Regions from separate parts of the Homo sapiens genome. Here region 1 is linked to region 2. Evidence: promoter capture Hi-C in 16 types of primary human blood cells and fetal thymus (Javierre and others, 2016). All regions are on one chromosome and are shown on one strand. The core of a region is centred on a gene start or on the middle of the fragment in contact, and the rest is flanking DNA. Distances in the headings are between cores, read along the strand shown. Region 1 overlaps CMTM2 (CKLF like MARVEL transmembrane domain containing 2). Region 2 holds the start of CA7 (carbonic anhydrase 7).

The links. The method cuts DNA at HindIII sites, captures the fragments that hold promoters and counts their contacts. A CHiCAGO score of 5 or more calls a contact.
Region 1: a fragment that was not itself captured here is called in contact with the fragment with the promoter of CA7 in region 2 in 1 of 17 cell types (endothelial precursors); the score reaches 6.1 in endothelial precursors.

Annotation. Positions count from the first base shown.
Region 1 is chr16:66,579,486-66,586,057 of GRCh38, forward strand. CMTM2 (CKLF like MARVEL transmembrane domain containing 2) reads left to right here. Exons shown (of 4, transcript NM_144673.3): 1 at 1-407; 2 at 541-699. The coding sequence starts at 123. Among named protein-coding and RNA genes, the nearest start is that of CMTM2, 3.3 kb to the left of the region's middle. The HindIII fragment of the contact is 685 bases long and covers 1,606-2,290 here.
Region 2 is chr16:66,839,137-66,846,022 of GRCh38, forward strand. It overlaps CA7 (carbonic anhydrase 7), which reads left to right and starts at 5,278. Exons shown (of 7, transcript NM_005182.3): 1 at 5,278-5,391. The coding sequence starts at 5,352. LOC124903699 (a long non-coding RNA gene) reads right to left here. Exons shown (of 4, transcript XR_007065088.1): 4 at 2,297-2,686. RefSeq lists an enhancer at 5,206-5,707. The HindIII fragment of the contact is 7,096 bases long and covers 4,822-6,886 here.

The DNA of each region.
Region 1 (6,572 bases), core at 698-3,197, 260 kb before region 2:
TGAGCACGCCCTCTGAGCCGCTCGGTGGACACCAGGCACTCTAGTAGGCCTGGCCTACCCAGAAACAGCAGGAGAGAGAAGAAACAGGCCAGCTGTGAGAAGCCAAGGACACCGAGTCAGTCATGGCACCTAAGGCGGCAAAGGGGGCCAAGCCAGAGCCAGCACCAGCTCCACCTCCACCCGGGGCCAAACCCGAGGAAGACAAGAAGGACGGTAAGGAGCCATCGGACAAACCTCAAAAGGCGGTGCAGGACCATAAGGAGCCATCGGACAAACCTCAAAAGGCGGTGCAGCCCAAGCACGAAGTGGGCACGAGGAGGGGGTGTCGCCGCTACCGGTGGGAATTAAAAGACAGCAATAAAGAGTTCTGGCTCTTGGGGCACGCTGAGATCAAGATTCGGAGTTTGGTGAGCTAAACTGGTATCCCTGGGTGGGGGGCCTTGGCCGAGGGTGGGGGGAAGGAGGAGTAGGCTCCAGGGGTCCTCAGAGAGATGGTGAAAGGCCCTTGCTGCTGGCTCAGGTGTCTATGTCTCACTGCAGGGCTGCCTAATAGCTGCAATGATACTGTTGTCCTCACTCACCGTGCACCCCATCTTGAGGCTTATCATCACCATGGAGATATCCTTCTTCAGCTTCTTCATCTTACTGTACAGCTTTGCCATTCATAGATACATACCCTTCATCCTGTGGCCCATTTCTGTAAGTAAGGGGTGATGGGGAGTGCCTGCATCCAGAATGCTGATCAGGTGTGTCTTGGCACCTGGAAAGTCACCAAACAGAGAGACACACCTCACCTCCCATATCTGTGCCTGGGTCAGGGACTCAGAACATCAGTGGGGCCCAGGCAGAGGCAGCTGGGTGCAAGAGGGGTAGCTAGGCAGAAAATGCTCCAAAAAGCCTATCTGTGTGTTGGAGTGAGAGTGGGGAACTCTTACTTACCTGGTGGTCAAAGAGGGCCTGAGCCTTTGTTCTCTTTAGGGGAAGGGGAGGTGTAGCAACCAGCTGTTCCTCCGAACTCCTGTGCCAGCTCACACTTGACAGGAGATCACCCCAGAAGGACCCCATTCCCAAAATTCAAAGAAGAAAATTACTCTCCCATAAGTCAATAAAATAAAACAAAATGGGAATTTTTTTTAAAAATCACTTCTAAAGCAGCGTTAGGTCTCCAGTGAATATCCCTATAAAGGATGTTTGGATCAGAAGGATGTTCAGCCCAAAGCAGTCATCTAGTGGAAAGAGACAGAACTGGGCAAGTTACTAAACCATTCCCAGCCTGTTTCCTCATCTGTAACATGAGACAGTCACATTCCTTGCAGAACTGACATTCAATCCTGAGGATTAAATGTAAATTGCTTGACACCGTGCCTGAGGACTCATGGAATTGAATCCCTGCCCATCACCTGTTTAACCACAGGGCACAACCACCTAACCCCTTGCCAGTCAATGAAGACCCCAATTCCCAAGTCCCTTTGTTCATTGCACATTCACAGCCTGCCTCCAGAGCCCTCTTGTTCACTGTTTCACTCACGTTACACATGAGGAAATTGGCCTAGAATGGCCAAGTAACTTGCCCCCAGGTCACTCAGCTGGTAAGTAGCAGAAAAAAGCTTCAAACTTAGCTTTATGAGTACATTTCATCCTGCCTTCTTGTTAAAAACTATTAGGGTCCAGGGATCCAGAGGTCTTGGTGAAGCAGATGAGGACCTCCGATACAGGGAGAAAGGACAGGAGGGCCAAATAAGGACTCTCAGAAAAGGGACAAGCAGAGGACAAGGTAAAAGGACAGGCAGAGGACAAGTTCCTAAACAAGGAGCCTGAGAAGACATTTTTAGTTCCAGCAAGATGAAAAACCAATGAACCCTGAACATCTTCCCACTGTGCTTACCTAAAAATACCAGGGGAAATGTAACCAGTATTGCTTTAACTGAATGAATGAGCTGGCAAAAAAGAAATGAAAACACACAGGCGCCAGAAATGGCAAACAGGGCAGTGATCACATAAGCTACAAAGTATGAGTGGGAATGGTCCAAGAGGTATTGTCTCAGGAACCTACAGCCTGGATTTTCATGCACTCTCAAGTCAGGAAATAAGGCCTTGATCCTAAGCAAAGTGGGAATTTAGAACTGAAAACCCTGTATAAAGCCAGCGCCCTGGAAAGACTACCTCCTTAGGGAAAAGATGGACAAAGACACATACCCTTCTTATTCCCAACACAGAGGAATAAGAAAACATGTTCATCTCTGCCTGAGCTTTGAGTGGGCGGAGAGGAAGTCTTCCTTGAGAAATAGAAAGCTTAAGCCTGCCCTTTGTACAGATTGGAGTTTGAATTTTTGTTATCTGCAGCCTAGAAACCTTCATGCAGCCCAGAAACCTTCATCCCTGGGAATTACCATAAAAACTGATCCCAGTCTGATGACATTCTGCTGATATCCTTGGACTCCTGATAGAAACAAATGCAAAATCACAATCAAGGCATGAAGAGATTCTCACAGTGGGGGTGGGGGGAAAACCTTGTCAAAAATGAACTAATAATTCAAAACTACTAAACACCTGATTTTAAAAAATCCCCATTACTAAGAATCAACAAACACAACAAATGGATTAGAATCCTGAGAATATGAGATAATAGAAGAGCTGTCTGAAAATAATAATATATTTTAAGGGATTATAGACATAAGAGTCCTGAGAAAAGAGTAAGACACTATGAGGACAAAATAGACAGATTTTTAAAAAGTACAGTGTCTAGAATAGAAAATATAGTTATTGAAATAAAAATGTCAATAGATGAATTCAAAAACAGATCAGACATAGCTGAAGGAGGGAACTGTTAACTGAAAGGTATGGGGAAATTACCCAGAACACAGCACACAGAGAGAGAGAAAATAAGAGATTGAGACAGAACAATGAGTGAGAACATCCATCAGTGGTTGTTGGGCTGGGTGTGGTGGCTCACACCTGTAATCCCAGCACGTTGGGAGGCTGAGGTGGATGGGTCCCTTTGGTCCAGGAGTTTGAGACCAGACTGGACAACATAGGGAGACCCTGTCTCTACAAAAAAATTTAAAAATTAGCCAAGCATGGTGGCACATGCCTGTTGTTCCAGCTACTCAGGAGGCTGAGGTGGGAGGATGGCTTGAACCCAGGAGGTCAAGGCTACAGAGAGCTCTGATGGTGCCACTGCACTCCAATCTGAGTGACAGAGTGAGACCCTGTCTAAAAAATAATAAAAGAGGTGTCAAGAAGCCAGGCACAGTGATGTGTGCCTGTAGTCCCAGCTTCTCAGGAGGCTGAGGCAGGAGAATGGCATGAACCCGGGAGGCAGAGCTTGCAGTGAGCCGAGATCGTGCCACTGCACTCCAGCCTGGGCGACAGAGTGAGACTCCATCTCAAAAAATAAATAAATAAAATAAAATAAAATAGACATCTATCCAAACCTGCACAAATTGTATTTTAGGTGACACTTCAGGAGCATTTCCTTAGAGATGCTTACTAGCTTCTCTTGTATTCAACATTGTGATAGAGACCTTAGTTCAATATGACAAGAAAAACAAAAGGTATAGAGATTGACAAGAGGAAAAATCTAATAGAATTATCTACACAGAAAATCTAAGAGAATCTACAGTCAAATCACTAGAACTGATTGAGTTCCACAAGGTTACCAGACACAAAAGCAGTAGTGTTCCTGAATACCAACAATGAACAATGAGAAACATAGGATTTTTTTGGCTGGGCACGGGGGCTCACAGCTGTACTCCCAGCACTTTGGGAGGCCGAGGTGGGTGGACCACTTGAGGCCAGGAGTTCCAGACCAGCCTGGCCAACATGGTGAAACACCAGCTCTACTAAAAATACAAAAATTAACCAGGCATGGAGGTGCATGCCTGTAATCCCAGCTACTCGAGAGGCTGAGGCATGAAAATCGCTAGAACCCAGGAGGCAGAGGTTGCCATGAGCCGAGATGGAGCCACTGCACTCCAGCCTGGGTGACAGAGCGAGACTGTCTCAAAAAAAAAAAAATGCTCTTTAAAAGAAATCACTTAAAACAGCAACACAAACTACAAGGTGTCTAAGAATAAACCTACTGAAAGATGTGTAAGACACTACATAGAGATTATAAGACTTTAGTAATGGACATCAAAGGAAAATGTAAATAGAGAAACATTCCACATTCACAAATATGAAAACTTATCATAGAGATGTCAATTCAATTCTGAATTAATCTATAAATTAAATAAAATTTCAACCTAACATGGGTTTTTCATGGCACTTTTACAAGGTGATTCTAAAATTCTTATCAAAGAAGAAAAAATACTAACAAGGATGGACTCACCCAACAAGATATCAGATTTACCATAAAGCTTTGGTACTAGCTCAGGGATTGACAAGAAGACTAACAAAATTGTTACAGATTGAATGTTTGTGTCTCCCACTCTGCAAAATCATACGTTGAGGCCCTAACCCCCACTGTACTGTACTTGAAGATGGGCCTCTAAGGAGGTAGTTAAGGTTAAATGAGGTCAGAACATTGGGGCCCTGATCAAATAAGTGTCTTTTGTTTGTTTGTTTTGAGACAGAGTTTTGCTCTTGTCACCCAGGCTAGAGTGCAGTGGCACAATCTCAGCTCACTGCAACTTCCACCTCCTGGTTCAAGCATTCTCCTGCCTCAGCCTCCTGAGTAGCTAGGATTACAGACATGCGCCACTAAGCCCGGCTAATTTTGTAATTTTGACTAGAGACAGCGTTTTGCCATGTTGGCCTAGCTGGTCTTGAACTCCTGACCTCAGGTGATCTGCCTGCCTTGGCCTCCCAAAGTGCTGTGATTACAGGTGTGAGCCACCACACCCAGCCAGTATCTTTATAAGAGAGCAGAGAATTCTCTCTCCCGCTTGCTCTCTCTCTACACACACACACATGCACACACATACACACGCACGCATCAAAGAAAGGCCATGTGAAAACGTAGTGAGAAGACAGCCATCTGCAAGCCAGGAAGAGAGCCCTCACCAGAAACTGAATTTCCTGGCACCTTGCTCATGGACTTCAGCCTCCAAAACTGCGAGAAAGTTAATGTCTGTTGTTTAAGCCACCCAGTCTGGGATATTTTATTATGGCATCCTGAGTAGACTAATACAGGGATAGAAAAGAGAACTCAGAAATAGATCTACAAACATATGGCAACTTGGTATATGACGGAGGTAGCATTATAGAACAGTTGAATAGAATATTCAATAAATGTCCCTGGGATTTGTGGACAGAGAGGAAGGGAGGGAGAGAGACAGACTATGTATCCCATTAAAATTAAAACTTCAACAGAAGACATCATAGGCCAGGTACAGTGGCTCACACCTATAATCCCGACACTTTGGGAGGCCAAGGCAGGAGGATCACTTGAGTCCAGGAGTCCAGGACTTGGAGACCAGCCTGGGCAACACAGGGAAGCCCTGCCTCTACAAAAACAATTTTTTTTTTTTTTTTTTTGAGATGGAGTTTTGCTCTTGTTGCCCAGGCTGGAGTGCAATGGCGCAATCTCGGCTCACCGCAACCTCTGCCTCCCGGGTTCAAGTGATTCTCCTGCCTCAGCCTCTTGAGTAGCTGGGATTACAGGCATGCACCCCCACGCCCAGCTAATTTTGTATTTTTAGTAGAGACGGGGTTTCTCCATGTTGGTCAGGCTGGTCTCGAACTCCCAACCTCAGGTGATCCGCCCGCCTCAGCCTCCCAAAGTGCTGGGATTACAGGCGTGAGCCACTGCGCCCAGCTTACAAAAACAATTTTTTTAATTGCACAGTGGCAGGTGCCTATAGTCCCAGCTGAGGCTGAGGTGGGGAGGATCACTTGAGCCCAGGAGTTCAAGACTGCAGTGAGTGGTAGAAACACCCTGTGTCTCATTTCGTTCATTCATATAGTAGGCTACATCAGTTAAAATTAATAAATCTATATTTCTCAATGTGGATAAATCTCAAAAGTCAAAAAGCAAGCATTGAAAGGTAGGATACTTTTTATTTAAATATAAAAAGTGTATTTTGAAATACACAAAATAGTATACATTGTTTATAAATATATAATATGTAGAAAAGCACAAATTCAGACAGGAAAACTGCACATCAGCTTCCAAAAGTTGGAGGAGGGAGGCATGAGGGACAGGAAAAGGGAAGGAAGCGAGGGGGCTGCAGCTCCATCCGTGAAGTTGGACTTCTTGTTTTCAAAGAGGCCTAAAGGGGACGTTGGCAAGACGTTAACATCTGTTAAATGTCAGTGGCTCCTGGCCTGGTGGAGGTGGGAGTCGGGGATAGGATGTTCTATTATTTTCTGGGCATTTGAAATGTATCAAAATTCAAAACATTAAAAAGGAAAAGGCCTGAAACAAAGTGGCCAGGAAAGGACAACAGCAGGAAATGGCACTATAGAAACCAAGGGGGATGGCAGGTGTCTTCCAGCGCTGCAGGATCAGCTGCTTCTCACCCCATCCTCTAGGCCCAGGAGAAATGCGGGAGGAAGCCAGCCTGCTATGGCCATGGTTTGGCCAGCTCTGAGAAGTTTGGCAATGCCTTGTCACTAGCAGGAGGGAAATG
Region 2 (6,886 bases), core at 4,028-6,527:
GCAAACAAAAACATAAAGTGGGAAAAGGACACCCTTTTCAACTCATGGTGCTGGGATAATTGGTTAGCCACACATAGGAGATTAAAACTGGATCCTCACCTCTCAGCTTTGACAAAAATCAACTCGAGATGGATTAAGGACTTAAATCTAAGACCTGAAACTATAAAAATTCTAGAAGATAACATTGGAAAAACCCTTCTAGATGTTGGCTTAGGCAAGGATTTCATGACCAAGAACCCAAAAGTGAATGCAATAGAAACGAAGATAAATAGTTGGGACTTAATTAAACTAGAGAGCTTTTGTACAGCAAAAGGAACAGTCAGCAAAGTAAACAGACAACCCACAGAGTGGGAGAAAATCTTCACAATCTATACATTTGACGAAGGACTAATATCCAGAATCTACAAGGAACTCAAACAAATCAGTAAGAAAAAAACAAACAATCCCATCAAAAAGTGGGCTAAGGACATGACTAGACAATTCTCTAAAGAAGATATACAAATGGCCAACAAACATATGAAAAAATGCTCAACATCATTAATGATCAGGGAAATACAAATCAAAACCACAGTGTGATACCACCTTACTCCTGCAAGAATGGCCATAATTAAAAAATCAAAAAACAGTAGATGTTGGCATGGATCCGGTGATCAGGGAACACTTCTACACTGCTGGTAGCAATGTAAACTAGTACAGCCACTACGGAAAACAGTGTGGAGATTCCTTAAAGAACTAAAAGTAGAACTACCATTTGATCCAGCAATCCCACTACTGGGTATCCACCCAAAGGAAAATAAGTCATTATATGAAAAAGATATTTCCACACACATGTTTATGGCAGCACAATTCACAATTGCAAAATCGTGGAACCAACCCAAATGCCCATCAATCAACGAGTTGATAAAGAAACTGTGGTATATGTATATATGATGGAATACAACTCAGCCATAAAAAGAAATGAATTAACAGCATCTGCAGCAACCTAGATGAGATTGGAGACTAATATTCTAAGTGAAGTAACTCAGGAATGGAAAACCAAACATCGTATGTTCTCACTGATATGTGAGAGCTAAGTTATGAGGATGCAAAGGCATAGGAATGATACAATGGACTGTAGGGACCTGGGGGAAAGAATAGAAGGAGGGTGAGGGATAAAAGACTGCAAATATGGTGCAGTGTATACTGCTCTGGTGATGGGCGCACCAAAATCTCACAAATCACCAGTAAAGAACTCACTCATGGCCCAGCACGGTGTCTCACGCCTGTAATCCCAGCACTTTGGGAGGCTGAGGCGGGCGGATCACGAGGTCAGGAGATCGAGACCATCCTGGCCAACATGGCGAAAACCCGTCTCTACTAAAAATACAAAAATTAGCTGGGCATGGTGGCACATGCCTGTCATACCAGCTACTTGGGAGGCTGAGGCAGGAGAATCGCTTGAACCAGGGTATCGGAGGTTGCAGTGAGCCGAGATCGCACCACTGCACTCCAGCCTGGCAACAGAGCAAGACTCCGTCTCAAAAAAAAAAAAAAAATCACTCATGTAACCAAATACCACCTGTACCCCAATAACTTATGGAAAAAATAAAAATATAATTAAAAAAGGAAACCTTGGCAGGATGGTCACTAAAATGTTAACAGTGGTGATCCTTGAGTAGTGACATGACCAGTGATTTTAATTTTCTGCTGTATGCTTTTCTGACTTCCAAATTTTCTACAATAGATGTCACTACTATAATTAGAGAAGAAATATTTGGGATTTTAAATGTACCCAACAAGGCCGGGCATAGTGGCTCACACCTGTAATCCTAGCACTTTGGGAGACTGAGGTGGGAGGATCCCTTAAGGCCAGGAGTTTGAGACCAGCCTGGGCAATATAGTGAGACCCCTGTCTCTATATAATCTTTAAAAAAAAAAGAAAAAAGGAAGTGAAAGTTGGAGGCCAAGGTCGTTTGATGAATGAGACTTGGCTGTACAGGCTGCTCATGCCTTCCTCCCCCAGGCCTCCATCACAGCCCTCACATCCCCCATTTTCCCCTCCCATATAAATAGCAAAAACCAGGAGCCACTGACACCAGTGAGACCAAAGAGAAAACTCTCAAGCAGAGAAATCAACTCGGCTTTAAAAACAGCATGTAATTGAGACTGGAGGCACCTGAATGGAGGCACAGGCTCCCCCAAGTTGACCTGAGTGGGTTGCTGGGGCAGCTGGCGCTTCACCTTAGAAGGGCAGTCTCCATTGTCTCCTCTCACTTTCCTGAGTTCCCAGTACCCAGAGAAAATGCTGAAGACAGGCTGCAGGAAGGAAAGAACTGGATCAACTTTTATTTGGTTGTTAAAGAGGTAATACATGCCTTAATTCATTCAAGAGATACAAAGGAGTACCAGTAAAGAGTGTCCTTCCCACGCCATACCACACCCTTCCACAACCTTCCACAACCTTCCGGTGTCCAGTCTCCTCCCTGTAGGTAAACACTCTCCCTAGCTTCTCCTAAGTCCTTTTAGAGAGGACTTGCATACACACACAAATGAGAGTCAAATTTAAAATCCGCTTCCTCCCTTTCCAGTGATTTTGGACAATATTGAACGAGGGACCCAGCAGCCCTGGGTTTTCATCTTTGTTCAGTCACTCACTGTGCATCTTCGAGCCCATCACTCATCCTCTCTTGAGCTTTGCTTTTCTCATCTGTAAAATGGGGTAAAAATCCCCCCAGGGTTACTATGTAGATGAAGTTGGATGCAAAACTATATGAAGAATTCCAATTGTATCTTTTTTTTTTTTGACACAGAATCTCACTCTGTAGCCCAAGCTGGAGTGCAGTGGTGCAATCTTGGCTCGCTGCAACCTCCGCCTCCTGGACTCAAGCAATTCTCATGCCTCAGCCTCCCGAGTAGCTGGGACTACAGGCACCTGCCACCATGCCTGGCTAATTTTTTGTATTTTAGTGGAGACGGGATGTCACCATGTTGCCCAGGATGGTCTTCAACTTCTGAGCTCAGGTAATCCGCCCGCCTCAGCCTCCCAAAGTGCTGGGATTACAGGCATGAGCTACTGTGCCAGGCCCAGTTGTATCTTTTAAGAACTACAAATAAATATGAAAAAGACCTGAGTCCCTCTGAAGAGGAAATGGGTCAATGGAGTTTGGGCTATCCCCAGAGCTCTCTCCCAGGTAAAGGATGTTGGCAGCTCTCCCAGGTAAAGGGTGGCTGGCTTCTCTGGGAGACAGAAGGTCCAGGCCTCACCCAGAAGCATGCCTTTGTCTTCTTGATCTGTAGATGCCATTTCCAGCTTGGAGACCTGGGGCCTTGACAGTGTTGGATTCTCTGTCACATCTGGTCTTGGGGGCTACTTATCTCTGTCATAAGTCCCCTGCCCCACCCTAGGGTCATATTTATATTAAGGATCCCTTCCTGCTCCTGGATCAGAGAGGGCCATCTTCGCAGGCCTGGGCAGTCACTGACATTGGCCCACCCAACCAGTTATCAATTAATCTCCATAGCTCTATCTGAGGATCTGGGGTTCAGGGCCTGGGAGAGGGAAACTGAGACAGACACAGAGATGAAGGGGAGCCAGGCAGACAAGATGGCAGATTCCTGTACAAGGTCAGCCAAGAGCAGGGCCTGAAAGAGTGTCTCTATTCAAGATCTGGACAGCAGACATTGTACTAGTGGCTGTTCGACTCCTGCTGAGTACAGGACCCCGGGTGGGATCATTTATCTGTCCTTCCATCCACCCCTCTGTTTGTCTTTCCAAAACTGCCTGCTGAGGACTAGCCAGAGACAAGCCCTCTCCCTGGCACAAGGCCACGTGCTAAGATGAATCAGATTGGGCCGGCTGGAGCCAGTGGGTGGAAGACAGAGGACGCACCAGGTGGAGGGCACAACAACGACCAGGGCTCGTGGGTGGGAAAATACTGGGCCAAGGCAGGCACTGGGGTTGAGTGCAGGGTGGAGGGTCTGAGCTCCCAGGGGGTGTACTGAAGGTTATGGGGAGGTCAGGAGAGGAGGGACAAACAGCAGGCTATGGAGGGACAAAGCAGAGTCCCTGAAGAAAGGAGGAAGCAGTAGACAAAATAACAGGGAGGGTGGAAGTCAGAGCCTCAGACTTAGCTCCATGGGGAAGCCACCTGGTGTCTGCCTGTCTTCAGGCCCATTGGTTGATGCCACTCCTTCTCACTCCCCCTTGGGGGATCTGGTTCCACCTGGGCCAAGGGTTCACATTGCCATTCCTGTCCCTGCATCTACCCCAGGGTTCCCGGACCCCCACACTCACAGCACACCCTTGTACCCAGCACCAAGGAGAAATGGTAAAGACCCCAGTGTCAGGCCAGGAGTGGTGGCTCACTCCTCTAATCCCAACACTTTGGGAGGCCAAGGCGGGTGGATTACTTGAGGCCAGAAGTTCAAGACCAGCCCAGGCAACATGGTGAAACCCCCATCTCTACAAAAAACACAAAAATTAGCTGGATGTGGTGGCACACACCTGTAATCCCAGCTACTTGGAAGGCTGAAGCAGAAGAATCACTTGAATCAAGGAGGTGGAGGTTGCAGTGAGCTGATATAGCACCAGCCTGGGTGACAGAGCAAGACTCTGTCTAAAAACAAACAAGCAAACAAACAAACAAACAAACAAATCCCACAAAACCCCCAGTGTCTGGAGTAAGAACCCCAGCTAATGAACCCTTTACCCCCTGGCTAGATGACCTTGGGCAAGTCACTTCACTTCTCTGGGCCTCACTCCCCTCCTCTGTCAGATAGGGCTGATGGAAGCACCCAACCTTGTAGGGTAACAGAGAGGGTTATACCATAGGAAGGACCCAAAGCTTGGTCCAGCGCCTGCAACAGCCTCTGGCAAACAGTGGAAGCTCCAGTTTTGGACACTTGATGGTCAGTGTAGTTTGCAGTTTAAAGGGGACTTTCCAACCCCAAAAGATTCAGGACCCAGAGCTCAGGTCTCTGGTGGTGGCATTTGCAGGTCTGGGGCAAGCCTAGGGAAGGGACGCCATGTGCGGCACGGGCATCTAGTGTCCCAGAGTCCGCACGGGTTGCTGGGGGAAAAAGAGGGATAGTCGCCCAGCCAGGGCAGGGGTGGGAGTTGGGGGGAGAGGGTTACTTCCTCCTGCCCTGAATCTCCGCTCGGGGTTCAACTGGCTCGCCGGCGGGCGAGGGCGGGGCAGGCCGGCCTCTCTGGCCCTGCTGGGGGGTGGGGGGCGGGTCCCCCGGGAACTGCTCCTCCCGCCAGCCGCTGCTTTAAGAGGCTGCTCCGCGGTAGCGAGCGGGGCCGGAGCCGCAGCCCGAACGAGCGGACCGAGCCGACCGGGCAGGTGCACGGCTGCGGGGACGGCAGCGGCATGACCGGCCACCACGGCTGGGGCTACGGCCAGGACGACGGTAGGCACAGACCTCCCCCACCGCCTCTGGCTCGGACCCCCGACCCAACTGCACTCGCCCCAACCCTCTTGCCCAGCTGGTTTCCCAGACCGGAAAGCTCCCACACTCCAGGCTGGGCGGGACCCCTCTTCCCATCCCGGCCCCCGAACTTGGCCCAAGCCTTGGTCCCCCGCGCCAGACGCAAAGTCCGCGCTGCGCCCCGGGTGGCCCCGCCGCCAGCAAGCGACCTGGCGGCTGTGTCCTGCCGCCTCCTCCGCGAAGCCCCTGATTGCCCAGCCCGCTCAGACCCAGGCCCAGACTCTCACTCACTCGCCCCGGGCGTGCGCAGCGCGTGGGGGTGGCCCAGGGCAGCGGGGGGCGGGCGCCGCGGAGCGCTGTGCGCGGGTGTCTGCGGGGAGCGCGCACGGCAAGTGAGCGGGGACCTCGGGGGAGCGGGGCTCCGCGTGGCAAGGGCGCAGTGTCCCCCGGAGAGAATTTCCCCGCAGAAGTGGCCGAGCTGCCTTCTCGGCCGGTACGTGAGGGAAGGGGGCACTTGGGGGCGCAAGCATGTGTCTGGGTGTCTACACCGAGCAGGGTGTTTGCGCACGTCCGGGTGTGAGTCGTGGGAGCCCGTGGCCCACACCAGCCTCCTGGGCTGACGCGGAAGAGAGCTCCTTCATCCTGCCTCAGTTTCCTTAGGACTCAGAGAAAGGGAGAAGAGGCAGAAGGTGAGAGCCAGACGGCTGGAGTGTGGGTCTGGGGCAGTCAATTCCCTTTGGGGCCATTTCTTACCAAGCAGGGGTGGGGGTGTGGGGTAAGGGGTTCCCTATTTCCCTGGGGAGCCAGTGCAAGACAGGTGGGGTGCGGAGAAGAAAAAGTAATGATGGGAGGAACATCCCCCAGCCCCACTCCTCTGCGGAGAGGCAGTCACTTTGTGAGGTTGGGTGGGGGACCACAGTCTGGGAAGCCAGAAAGTTGCAGTAGACCAGAGGGAGGGTGCTGTGGAGTCTTTGGCTCCCTCTGGGGCCCCAAGAACAAAGGAGCATATTTTGGAAGAGAACCCCCAGATCTGGGTATGCAAGAGCTGGAAAGAGACATTCAGAAAAAGATGATATAGACAAGCAGAGAGGGAGAGACAGGCAGACATGGGGCAGATGGACAGGACCCATAGGGATCATCTTCTCCCAGCACCTGCTCTGAGCCACCTTTTGGGTGCTTCCCCCAGAGCCAGAGTCCCCTGCCTCCAGCTCTTCTTGCTAGTCATGCCCACCAGCTCTGAGCACCCAGTGTCCTGTGTAGCCTGCTCCATGGGCCTGCTCCCCCAAAGCAGCCACCCCATCACCCAGGCAGAGCTGGATTGTCCAGTCGAGGAAGGGAAGGACAGAGGACAGAGGTGCCGGCATGCAGCAGTGTTCACAGGGCTTCAAAAATAACCCAGAGGGGCCGGGCCACGATTCTGAGTCATCCATTGGGGACACGGCTCTGTCGGCACCTGCTGCTGTTTTCTCAGGAAAAC